2 separate regions of the Homo sapiens genome follow, and region 2 is linked to region 1. Evidence: promoter capture Hi-C in human tissues and cell types (Jung and others, 2019). All regions are on one chromosome and are shown on one strand. Each heading gives the region's core, a stretch centred on a gene start or on the middle of the fragment in contact. The rest is flanking DNA. Distances are from core to core; before and after follow the strand shown.

Evidence for each region. Contacts are between HindIII fragments. The study calls those that stand out against the background at their distance.
Region 2: a fragment that was not itself captured here is called in contact with the fragment with the promoter of AMOTL2 in region 1 in 1 of the 25 tissues and cell types used here (stomach).

The regions. Positions count from the first base shown.
Region 1 is chr3:134,371,829-134,377,368 of GRCh38, reverse strand. AMOTL2 (angiomotin like 2) reads left to right here and starts at 2,922. Exons shown (of 10, transcript NM_016201.4): 1 at 2,922-3,027. RefSeq lists enhancers at 1,265-2,062, 2,063-2,862, 2,863-3,662. The HindIII fragment of the contact is 13,073 bases long and covers 1-5,540 here.
Region 2 is chr3:134,420,566-134,426,105 of GRCh38, reverse strand. No RefSeq gene overlaps it. Among named protein-coding and RNA genes, the nearest start is that of MIR4788, 14 kb to the left of the region's middle. The HindIII fragment of the contact is 8,360 bases long and covers 1-5,540 here.

The sequences.
Region 1 (5,540 bases), core at 1,673-4,172:
GTTCTTGGAACTGGAGCACTGGAACTTCCATCCTAATGTTCAGATTCTTCCTATGAATTTGCTTCATGCTCCAGATTCCGGTAGGTTTCCTGTTTCCATAACCTGTCAGAGGGAGTGTTCAGGGGAAGCTGGAAAAGTGAATTTCACAACTAACAGTCATCCTTTGATCTTGCCACCTGCACCCTGGAGCTCTCCTCCACTAAGCAACCATTTGGGAAGTAAGGGGAACATTTCCTTCCCGGCTCCATGGGAGGAGGCTGCTAGGGTCCCACCAAGAACTCACTTTCATGTTCTGGTTGGGTGCAGTGGGATGCAGCTGCAGGGCCAGACTGAGGCCATAAAACAGGCACAGACCCAGACCGGGGCTAAGGAGAGGCGATGGTGTGGGTGCCTGGATCCCTTGCTAAGCCCTGTACACACCTATGATGCAGCCACACCCCAAGGAGCTACACTTCCTAGAGCAAAGGCCTCCAGCCTGGCTTACTCTGAGAATTAGGTCACCTCCGCATCTTTCCTGGATAGGATTCCTGACCCAGCCAGCCACATTGTCATCTGGGAAGAATCATAACCTGTAGGAGGAAGAGAGGAGGTAAAGGAGAATGGGACAAAGTAGATTGAGACAAAGGTGGAAGAAGAAAGCATTGGCTCACTAAGAGAGCCTCTCTCCCCTCTGCTGTAGGTGAAGATTCATATGCAAGCAGGCTGGCCGGCCCAGTGTCCCCTGTGCACATCTGCCTCTGGCACATCTGAACAGTGGTCACCTTCTCCACCAACTATCCTGCAGAGCTGGGGTGGCCGCCAGCTTAGGTAGGCTCCACCGCAGGCCATGCCTGACAGATCTTGCCTTCTGTTCTTTCTGCAGAGAGAAAGGGAAAGGAAAAATAAAAGTACATGCACATTTCTCATTTAGGTTTTGGGATCCCTCTCCCGCTTCTGTCCCTTTGGGGACAGAAATTAGCAATCATGGGGGCCTGTGTGGCTCTGCAGCAGGCTTGTCCACTCCAAGATGTACCTCCTTCACCCTAGCTGCCTTGAACTGACGCCTTTCTGCAACCATCTCAAGAATATTTGTCAAACATTTTGTCAGGTATCCTCCCAAATGCCTGAAAGACAGGACTGTACCATGTGGTCTTTCCCCTGGTTTTACAACCCGAGTGCACATGTCCACAACCACTCCCCTGCCTCCACCAATTATGCTGTCCATAAGGTAAGGCCACTCAGAGACCTCTTTCCTTTCACTTCTAAAATTCCTACCTACAGTGGTATACTGATCACAGCTTCTCTTCGTAAGGGGATCCTTGGAAAGACAAATATCCCGTAGCTTGGCACAAATGATCCATTTGCTCAATCATCTCAGATCCAATCACTGTTTGAAACACAGTATTTGACTTCCAAGTAAAACACACACGTGCGCACACACACACACACTTTTTGTGAGTTTTATTAAAAATTAACAATGTCCCTGGCAATTAAGCTTGCAGAATTTCCTTGTCCTTGTTTCCCTCCAGTGAATTTGGGACTTGCAAACTCCATGCTGATGGGAGGACCCAGCCAGGGGTAGAAATCAGCCCTGACTCTCTGGGTGGACAGGGGCCTGACTGCCCCCACCTCACCCCAACTGACTTGTAGAGAGGGCTTGTGTGATGGGGAACGGGGACAGCATGTGTCAGAGCGAGCTTTCTGAAGAAGGGGTTTCCATCTAGCAGTGGAAGTGTCCTGGGGGCAGAGGAGAGGATTCCATGCAGGAGCCACAGAAGTGGGTACAGGGGAAAGCCCCTGGCTGGCAGGGGTGTAGGGGGAGGTAAAGAAGAGACTAAAGCAAGGACAGGGTAAGTGGAGAGAGGAGGGCTCCCAGTGTCTGCCCTGTCCATCTAGGGAGCCTGGATTCTGATAGCCAGGGAGGGGTTTTGAGAATGAGAAACCAAGCAGCCCAGTGGTTGATTACCTGGTTCTCACTGTGTGTGACTCTGGGCACGCTGCTTAAGCTCTCTGAGCCCTGGTGTCCTCATTTACAACACAGGGATGATAACAGAACTCCGTTGGAGGGTGCTTGGCAGGGCTGAATCGGATGACTGGGCGAAAAGCCAGCGGTGGCACACCTTGCACTCTGCGTAAAGGGGCGCCTATTATCACCTTGGGGAAGAACTGGACAGAGCGCCTGGCGGCGGGTGATTCAGTTGGGTAGGTGGGTCAAATTGACCGGATTTTCCAACCCAGATTCACACTTCCTGTCGAGACGGTCGTAAAATAGCTGGCGAAGGTGTTTGTAAACAAAAGTGCATTCAAAGGTTGCCGCTGGGGGTGAAAACAGCGGGGGTTAGGGGAAAGAGGCTCTGTGGCTGGAAGCATTCACTTAGCCCGGGGCACTGTCCCAGCCCAGAGGATATGGATGTCTTTGCAGTCCCTCCTCCCTTTCCCACCTCCCCCGGTACACACACACGCACACACACACACACACACACACACAGCCGGAGTCCCCTCCCGCAGCAACCCCAGGACACGCGTGGTACAGCCCTTGCTGTCGTCCCGTCGATGGGTTTAGGGATGAAGGGTGAGAGCGGGTCGGCGACTGGGAGTGGAGGCGATAATGGGCAGAGTTGGATTAAATTGTCTCCAGCAGCTCCGAAGGCAAAGCATGGGGCAGGGGCGGACACACCGCGGCCTGGAGGGCGCTGGGCGCGGAGGAACGGAGCTCGGGGGCCGGGCCGGCGCTCGGCCAGCAGCGCCGCCTCCCCGGAGGAAGGCGGGGGCCGGGAGGAGGGAGCGGGAGAAGGCGGAGGGCGGAGGAGGGCGGTGCGCTGAGAGGTTATTTGTGGTTCGCTTTGATCCCGAGGGGGAACCTGAAACTCTCACATTCCTGGCATAGCAGCCGCCTCCGGCGCGGGCCGACCCTGGGGCTGCGCGCTGGGGCGCGAACAGCCAGAGCGTCGGCGCCACGGCCGAGAACACATCTTCGCCGCCGAGCTGAGCTGGGCCGAGCCGGAGGTTGTGGTGTCTGACTGCGCTGGGCACCCTCGGGCCGCAGCGGTAAGGAAGGCCGCTCGGCGCTCGGGAGAGCGCGCGAGGCCACAGAAACGTGCCCCAGCCAAAGCTGGAGTCTCGGCGCAACCCGGCCTTTTCCGGGAGTCGGAGCCTCGAGGATCGAGCGTCCTCGGGGCGCAGTGCGCCCTTTCGAGGCAGCCGCAGTGCCTGGCAAGGGCCGCTCTGCCCAGGGAGCGCAGCGCGCTGGGCTTTGCGGGGCTCTAGAAACGCGCGGGTCTCTTGGGGCTGGGGGAGAGGGGAGAGGGCCGACTCCGGAGACAACAGCCACAGTGTTTCGGGTTGCAGGTCGGCGGGGGTGGGGGTGGCGGGGGACAGGGATGGAGGCGCCGCTTGGAGCTCAAGTTGCAGGGTCCTGCGGGCTGATTTGGTTAGGTGGGGGTTACAGGTGCCTTTGCCCCCAACTAGTCCAAGAATTCCTCTTTGTCTTCCTTGGAAAATCCTCTCTGGAGCCACGAATTGGCCCTCACTTAGAAAGAATGCAGCCTGCTGTCCAGCCCGGTGACGTCAGCGTTAGAGTATTTGGAAAACAAAGAGGGCTCGAGAGGGAGGGAGGCGGACCCGCGATGCTTAAAGACCTCTCCGGGCCTCGGGCTACCCTCACCGGCTCGCCCCAGGCGTACCAGCGGCCACCGGTGCTCCAGGTCCGCCCGGGCTCGTGGTGGGGCGGGAGCCCTGGCTGGGGTGCCAGAACCTCCTAGCTTGGAGACTGTCTTTGGTTCCTTAGGCGAGCAGGAGCCCAGGCCAAGGCTGGAGACGCGCGCTGGCTTAGAAAGGCGGCCTTCAGAGAGCGCAGCGGGCGAGTGCAGCAGAGGTTCGCGGCCGGGGGCGCGGAAGCAGGTTTTTGTAAAGGCCCAGGCGTTTGATGTCTGAAAGGACGTGAATCTGAGGGGCTTGGCCGGGACAAATTCGCGATGAGAGGCCTTGGAGATGTTCCTTGCTCCCAGTCCGGGCACACTATGGAGCGCCTGGAATCTGTCAGGAAGGCTCCGCATTCCTTCCTGCCGCTCCCCTGCCTTCTCTGTGGGAGTCGGCCCAGAGAGTGATTATCATAGGAAATGCCCGCAGATAAAACTCCAGGGCGAACTGAATCCCATACGAATTGAATCCCATTTGCTTGCTTTGCCTCGGGTAGCTCTGGAGTCTTGCACATCTACCCCTCGTTGTGTGTGGGGGGCGCATGACTGGGTGCCAGGAAGGATGGGTACAGAGGTGCCCTCCAGACTCATCCCCCACTCCCCAGCTCTGGGCAGCTGGAGTACTGGGGTGGGGAGAGGGAAAAGATCGGGAATGGCTGCTCTGCCAACATGCCATAGCCCAAACTGAAGCAGGACACTAGGGCTAGTTTAGTGGCAGAGGAGGGGCCACATTCCTCCCACCCACCCCCCCAACCCCTGCCCATACACACAGGACCTGTGGCAGTGTGGATTCTGTTTAGTTTTCCCTGGATCCCAGTTTGGAGATTTGTGTTGGAAGAGGCTGTGGAAAGGAAGCTGGGTGAGAGAGGCAGGCAGATTTCCAGTCCATGAACCACTGGGAGCCCAGGCTTAGAAGGGAACTCCTTTCTCCGATATAATCTCCCAGCACTTTAGGCTCACAGTCCCCTCTCCCCTGCCCCAGGTCTCTCAACCAACAGCCTCCCCTTACTTCTCCAGTTGGCCCAAGTCAAGATGGGCTTCCTTGACACTGATGTCAAGAAAGATGCTGAGTGCCCATCCCTTATGTGCCTAGAGGACCAGTGGGGGCTTTTCCAAGTAGCGTGTGTGTGTGTTTGTGTGTGTGTGTGTGTGTGTGTGTGTTGGGGAGGATAATCATAAAATCAAAGACATCATGCCATCCTTCCTTTTTCCTGGAGCTCTCTTGCAGTTACTGTCAGCACAAAAGACTGACCCACTAACCTTAATGGGTGGCACCTTTTTGCCTCATCTTACAAAACCATTGTCCTCTTGAAGCATTTTTATTCATCCTTTATTCACCAATTCAGGTGCAATTACTCCTTCTTCCTGTTCACCTTGCAGAATGACTGCCAAGGTCATCCCATGACAGGGAGCCCCAGATTCATTCTGTCAGCAGCGCTTGATGAAGCAGAGCCCAAGCCCATCCTCCAGGAGTTCTCTGGTTCAGGGAGAGTGGGAAAAGTGGCCAGGGGTTCAGCGGGCTAGAGGGTGGTAGGTTGACTGTGCCAAGGCTCTGGGATGCCTCAGTCTAGAGGGTGGTAGGTTGACTGTACCAAGGCTGGACTCTGGCATGCCTCAGTCTAGAGGGTCCTAGAGGCCTTTCGCCTAGGGCTTCTACTGGACTGCATGCATTCTTTATCACCTGCCAATAAATTGGGGCCCCATCCACCCCTAGACTGAATAGCTAAGTGGTTAGATCTGAACTAGGCCTGCCTTAGAATTGCCCATCAGGCTGTTTGATGTGTAGCTGGCTGTACGGGTGGTGGTTCCTGGTGGGTTATCTTCTGGTTTCCTGTTGTCTCTCTCCAGGAATAGTAAGTCTCC
Region 2 (5,540 bases), core at 985-3,484, 49 kb before region 1:
CCTCCTCCTGAGCAACGGGGACTACAGGCACGTGCCACCATGCCTGGCTAAATTTTTTATTATTTTTTGTAGAGATGGGGCCTCACTATGTAGCCCAGGCTGGTCTCAAACTCCTGGGCTCAAAGATCCTTCCACCTCGTCCTCCCAAAGTGCGGGGATTATAGGTGTGAGCCACTGCACCTGGCTTTAACCTGAACTCTTAACAGACTAGACAAGCAACTCACACCGAGAGCTATCCATACTTAAGCAAGAGAGTAAAATGGGACAGAGCACATATATATACAAATACGATGAGCCAGGCGTGGCGGCTCACGTCTGTAATCCCAGCACTTTGGGAGGCCAAGGTGGACAGATCACCTGAGGCCAGGAGTTTGAGACTAGCCTGACCAATATGGTGAAACACTGTCTGTACTAAAAATACAAAAATTAGCTGGGTGTGGTGGTGTACGCCTGTAATCCCAGCTACTCGGGAGGCTGAGGCAGGAGAATCTCTTGAACCTGGGAGATGGAGGTTGCAGTGAGCCGAGATCGCACCATTGCACTCCAGACTGGGCAACAAGAGTGAAACTCTGTCTCAAAAAAAAAAAATAATGATGTACAGCTTAAATTTTCTTTCCTTGTCTTTAAAATACACACACACACACACACACACACACAGAGGTTTCTTTATATTTGGGAAATTTTTTTATACTCTCTGGTGGGTAAAACAAATTAATGATGTTATATTTCATTATTGCAAATAACTTTGGAAGAGAGGATTGATCCTTGATCGCTGGTGTGGTGTTTTCAGAAAATCTTTCCATTTTCTTAACTGAAAGCTGTGTCTCTCCCCAGAGGGCAGGGAATGGGCAAGGCCCCAGGAAGGAAGCACCTGCCCTCACACCGAAAGGAATGTCTCAGCACTGCCCGGTGTGCATTTGCTTCCTTGCCGTCCCTCCTGCCATTACTACACTTCTTACTATGGCAGAGGGCCTACTGTCCCTGAGTGCTCAGTGCCAGGCCCAGGATCTTCAAGAGACAGCGTGAGAAGGCATGCAGCATAGAAGGGTGGATTGCCGGGTAGAACCGTGAGGCCCTCAGAGGGGATGTGGGAAGCCTGGGAGTAGCAATGGGCATTGAGTTACGTAGGGAAGATGGAAATAAGAAATATAGGCAAGAAGAGAAAGAAATTAGCATTTTTTGAGCACCTACTAAGTGCCAGGCAACATACAACAAGAGGAATCAATTACATGGGGCCCGGTAATTTACCAGGCACTTTCCTACAATCTCTCTCCCTCTCTCTGTCCCATTTTCCATAACGCTTTTCACCTCTGAGTGTCAGATTATATATGCATCTACTGATTTACTTGTTAACTGTCTGCTCCAATGGAATGTAAATTCACAATGATATTTCTGTAGGTCTAATGTACTGCTGAGCCTAGCACATAGCAGTTTAGAGTTTAGTCAACAGTCATTCAGTGAATAGATAAATAAAATCATCATGATAACTTTTTTGAGAGGGATCTTCTTCCACTTCTTCCCTCCATGTCATCTGCCTTATCCATGAACATTATTTCATCTGGTCTTTACCACACTATTGTAAAGGTAAGTTCTCTTTTTTAGAGTGAGGAGGTTTGGGCTCCGAGAGGGCAAGTGTCTTGCTCAAGGTCACTCAGCAAGTAACTGTCAGAGATCAGATTTGAACCCAGGACTCTCTGCCATCTTTCCCCACAAAGAGAGAGAGCAGTTCAAGGACATGCTGAGAAGCAAGGGCAGATGATACCCACTGTTACAGCTGCCCCTAGACAGATCCCAATGCTCTGCAGTGGTGAGGAAGAGTGTGCCAGCAGGACCTGAGGATCTGGGGCAGTCCCTGAGCCCTTGAGCTCCAGCCTTCTCATCTGTAAGATGAAGGCTTCAACTAGATGAAGGCTGAAATCCCTTGCAACTCTGAGATGCTAAAACATGATCTTCTTTGTGATCATGGACCTGAGCCAGAGGACTTGTGCACTGAATTCCATCTTTCCCCTACGTCTGTATATAGTGCCCAAAGTCCAGCTAGTTCATATGGACCTTTGTCACACAGGGGCATAGTGGAACTGGGGTGGGCTAAACCAGAGGCAGAGAGGCCTGACCACAGTGGGGACAAAGATGAACATTGAGGCAAGGGCAAAGGGGGATTGTATGGGGAAGGAAGACGCAACAGAGAGGGGAGCAGGGGCCAGGCCAGAAGCATTCTGGGTGGCCTCCCTCAAGCCATCCCCATGTCCCTGCAGGTAGCTCTTGCCTCCTCTTCCCTTTCCTGTCATTCTCTCTTTATCACTCTACTGCACTGGACAGAAGACAGAACTGAGTGTATTCCCTTGCTTTTTTCCCCATGCTGGATAGTCCTTGCTCTCCATTTCAGAAGTGAACTGGCTCTACATTTTTCTTTCAAGCCCATTTTTCTTCCATATGGCTTATGTTTCTGCCAATGAACCTGACTGACGCCTTTTCCCTTGGATCAGTATCCTTAGCAGGGTCTCTGGTGTCTAGGGCCCTGTCAGCAGCTCCCTGCATAGTGTGAAGATGCTGTCCCCATGAGAGTGCTTAGCATGAGGCAGCTTCCTTGGGGAACACACCTCTCGCCCACACCTGATGGGTGCACCCTTGAATAGTGCCCTTCACTGCCCACCCTTGCCCTCTGCTCCACCTTTGCTTTGCATGGCAGACTAGGGATTAGGTGACTTGCATTGTGGACTGGGGATCCCTGGGAGCTGAGCCAATGCCATCTGTTGTGGCTGTAATCTGACACCCACATCAGGGGGGGCCTGATGCTGCTCTGAGCCTGGTTGGTGGACATCCCTCTTCCATCAGGCAACACAAAACACCCTCCGTAGGGGCAAACCCCAGCCAGGCAGATGGGACAGAGCCAGATGTGACACCCCACATCACAGTTGACATACTGCTAGCTCCATCCTTGCCCCAGAGTGAGTGGCCTTCTGGAGATGACCAGATGTTTGGGCTCCCAGGGATAATCCCAATTCAAATGGCAGTCCTGAGCCTTCCAAGAACTGGACCCTGAAGGTCAGGACAGTTCAGGGCTGCAGAGGCTTGCCAGGGAGACGTCCACTGTCTGGGGAGAGGAAACAGCTTCCTGGGTGCAGGCTGAGAGGAGAGGGGCCCAGACACACCTGGGAAGGGGCTTCACACAGAGGCAGAGGTAGTGGCAGTGAGGCCCAGGAGACAGTAGTCCTGAGAGCAGAGGTGTCCACAGGCAGAAGTGAGATTAATTAGTACAGGGAAAGTGGCCAGGGCTAGAAAGGATGGCTTTTCTGGGAGAGAAAGGGCCTTGAATGTAGGATCAAGGGACATAGGCTTTTTCTTGCAGGAAGTGGGACACAACCTCATGATTTCCACCCCACCCTCCAGCTTTTCTATTCATCTTCTTAAGAACCCAGGTGTATTAGGCCATTCTTATGTTGCTATAAATAAACATCTCAGGCTAGGTAATTTATACAGAAAGAGGTTTACTTGGCCTATGGTTCTGCAGGCTTTACAGGAAGCATGGTGCTGGCATCTGCTCAGTTTCTAGGGGGACCTCAGGAAGCTTCCAGTAATGGCAGAAGGGGAAAGGGGAGCAGGTGTCTCACATGGAGAGAGCAGGAGCAAGAGAAGGAGAGGGGGAGAGTGCCACACACTTTTAAACAACCTGATCTTGCTAGAAATCATTCTCTATTGTGAGGACAACACCAGGGGGATGGTGCTAGCCCATTGATGAGAAATCCACCCACATGATCCAATCATCTCCCACCAGGTCCCTCCTCCAACACTGGGTATTACATTACAACATGAGATTTGGTGGGGACAAATATCCAAACTGTATCACTAGCTATAGAAAGAACTTACTTGACAACAAAAGAAGTATAGCAAAGGCTTTGTGCCCTTGGGATTCACTGGTCTTACCACATGCCCCATCACCCAGAAGCAGCAGGCCAGATAGGATAGTGGAAGGGCCTGCTGAAAACCCAGTCACAGCTCCAGTTGGGAGAAAACACCCAGCATAGGCTTTGACTCAACAACGAGTATATGATGCTGCTTTCCCCATAGCCAAGATACTGAAGTCTGGGAATCAAGGGCAGAAGTATGAGTGACTCCTCTCACTATTACAGCCAATAATCCATCAGCAATGTTGCTTCCCATCCCAACTTAGAGCCCTGCTGGTTTGGAGGTCTTAGTCCCCAAAGGGAGGGCACTCTACCAGGAGACACAAACACTGATTCCATTAGAATGGAAGATGGGACTGCCATGTGGCCATTTGGGGATCCTTGTGCTACTGAGCCAGCAGGCAGAAAAAGGGGTTACTTTACAGGCTAGGATGACTGATCCTGATTACCAAGGGGAAACTGGGTTATTGCTACACATGGTAGCACTATGGTAAGGGGCACTATGCCTGGAACTCAGAGGATGTCCTAGGGTGCTTCTTGGTATATCTATGTCCATGTCCTATGACTACTGCCCAGAGATGGATACCAGAAAGGTAGGATGTTTTGTATCCTGATTTTGATGGAGGTTGAGTGCATCTTTGTTTTTCTGAAGGATAATTGCATCTTATTATATGGAAGCATAAGACGGTAAAAGTTAATGAAAAATTTCAACAACCAAAAACACATCAGGGCCACTGAGGACTCAGACCACCTAGGCACAAAGGTTTGGGTCAGCCCATCAGGTCAAGAACCCCAGCCATCTGAGACTGTAGCAGCTATGCTTGTGTGTGTGTGCGTGTGTGTATTCCTCCATTCTTCCTCCCATTTTTATTTTATGTGAGGATTGCCATTGGTAGTTACCTGTAAAATTTGGTCTTAGGTTATGAAGTAATTGGGTAGGACTATGACAGAATTAGAGAAATAATTAACATCACCCAGAGGTAGGTTCTATGACTACTACCCAGAGATGGTTACAATAACGGGGGGATGTTTTGTATCCTGATTTTGATAGAGGTTGAGAGCATCTTTGTTCTTATGAAGAACAGAGAGTTGGATCTTATTATATGGAAGCATACAGTTGTAATTGTTATATGGAAGTTGAAGTATTAACAAAAGGGTGTGTATATCGGTGTTCAGTAGCTAAAGAGGTAGACTCTGTTGGTCATTATGTCATTATCTCTCTGCTGCACATTCATCTCCTTATGCTCTTTTTGATGCTGGGAGTAGGACTCCACACACTGCATCTTCCTTTAGCTAACTTGGTCTCTGTTGGGCTTCACTAACAGGAGGTGCTAGATAAAGGTAGAACTTGTTCCTTCCTTTTTGCTTTCTGTCTTAGAAATGGGCCTTGCCCTGTGCAGCAGCATTGGGTTCCAGCCCCCAATTTCTTTACAAATTCCTAGAACCAGCTTCATCTAGGTTCTGATAACCATACCTTCTCTTTGTTCTCCATTAAACTTTTATATCAATGGTGTGTGTGTGTGTGTGTGTGTGTGTCTGAGAGAGAGAGAGAGAGAGAGATTGAGGGAGAGAGAGAGAGGCTCTACTTCCTGGGTTGCAAAATTAAATGGTTGTTTTGTTTTTTTTAATTATAAG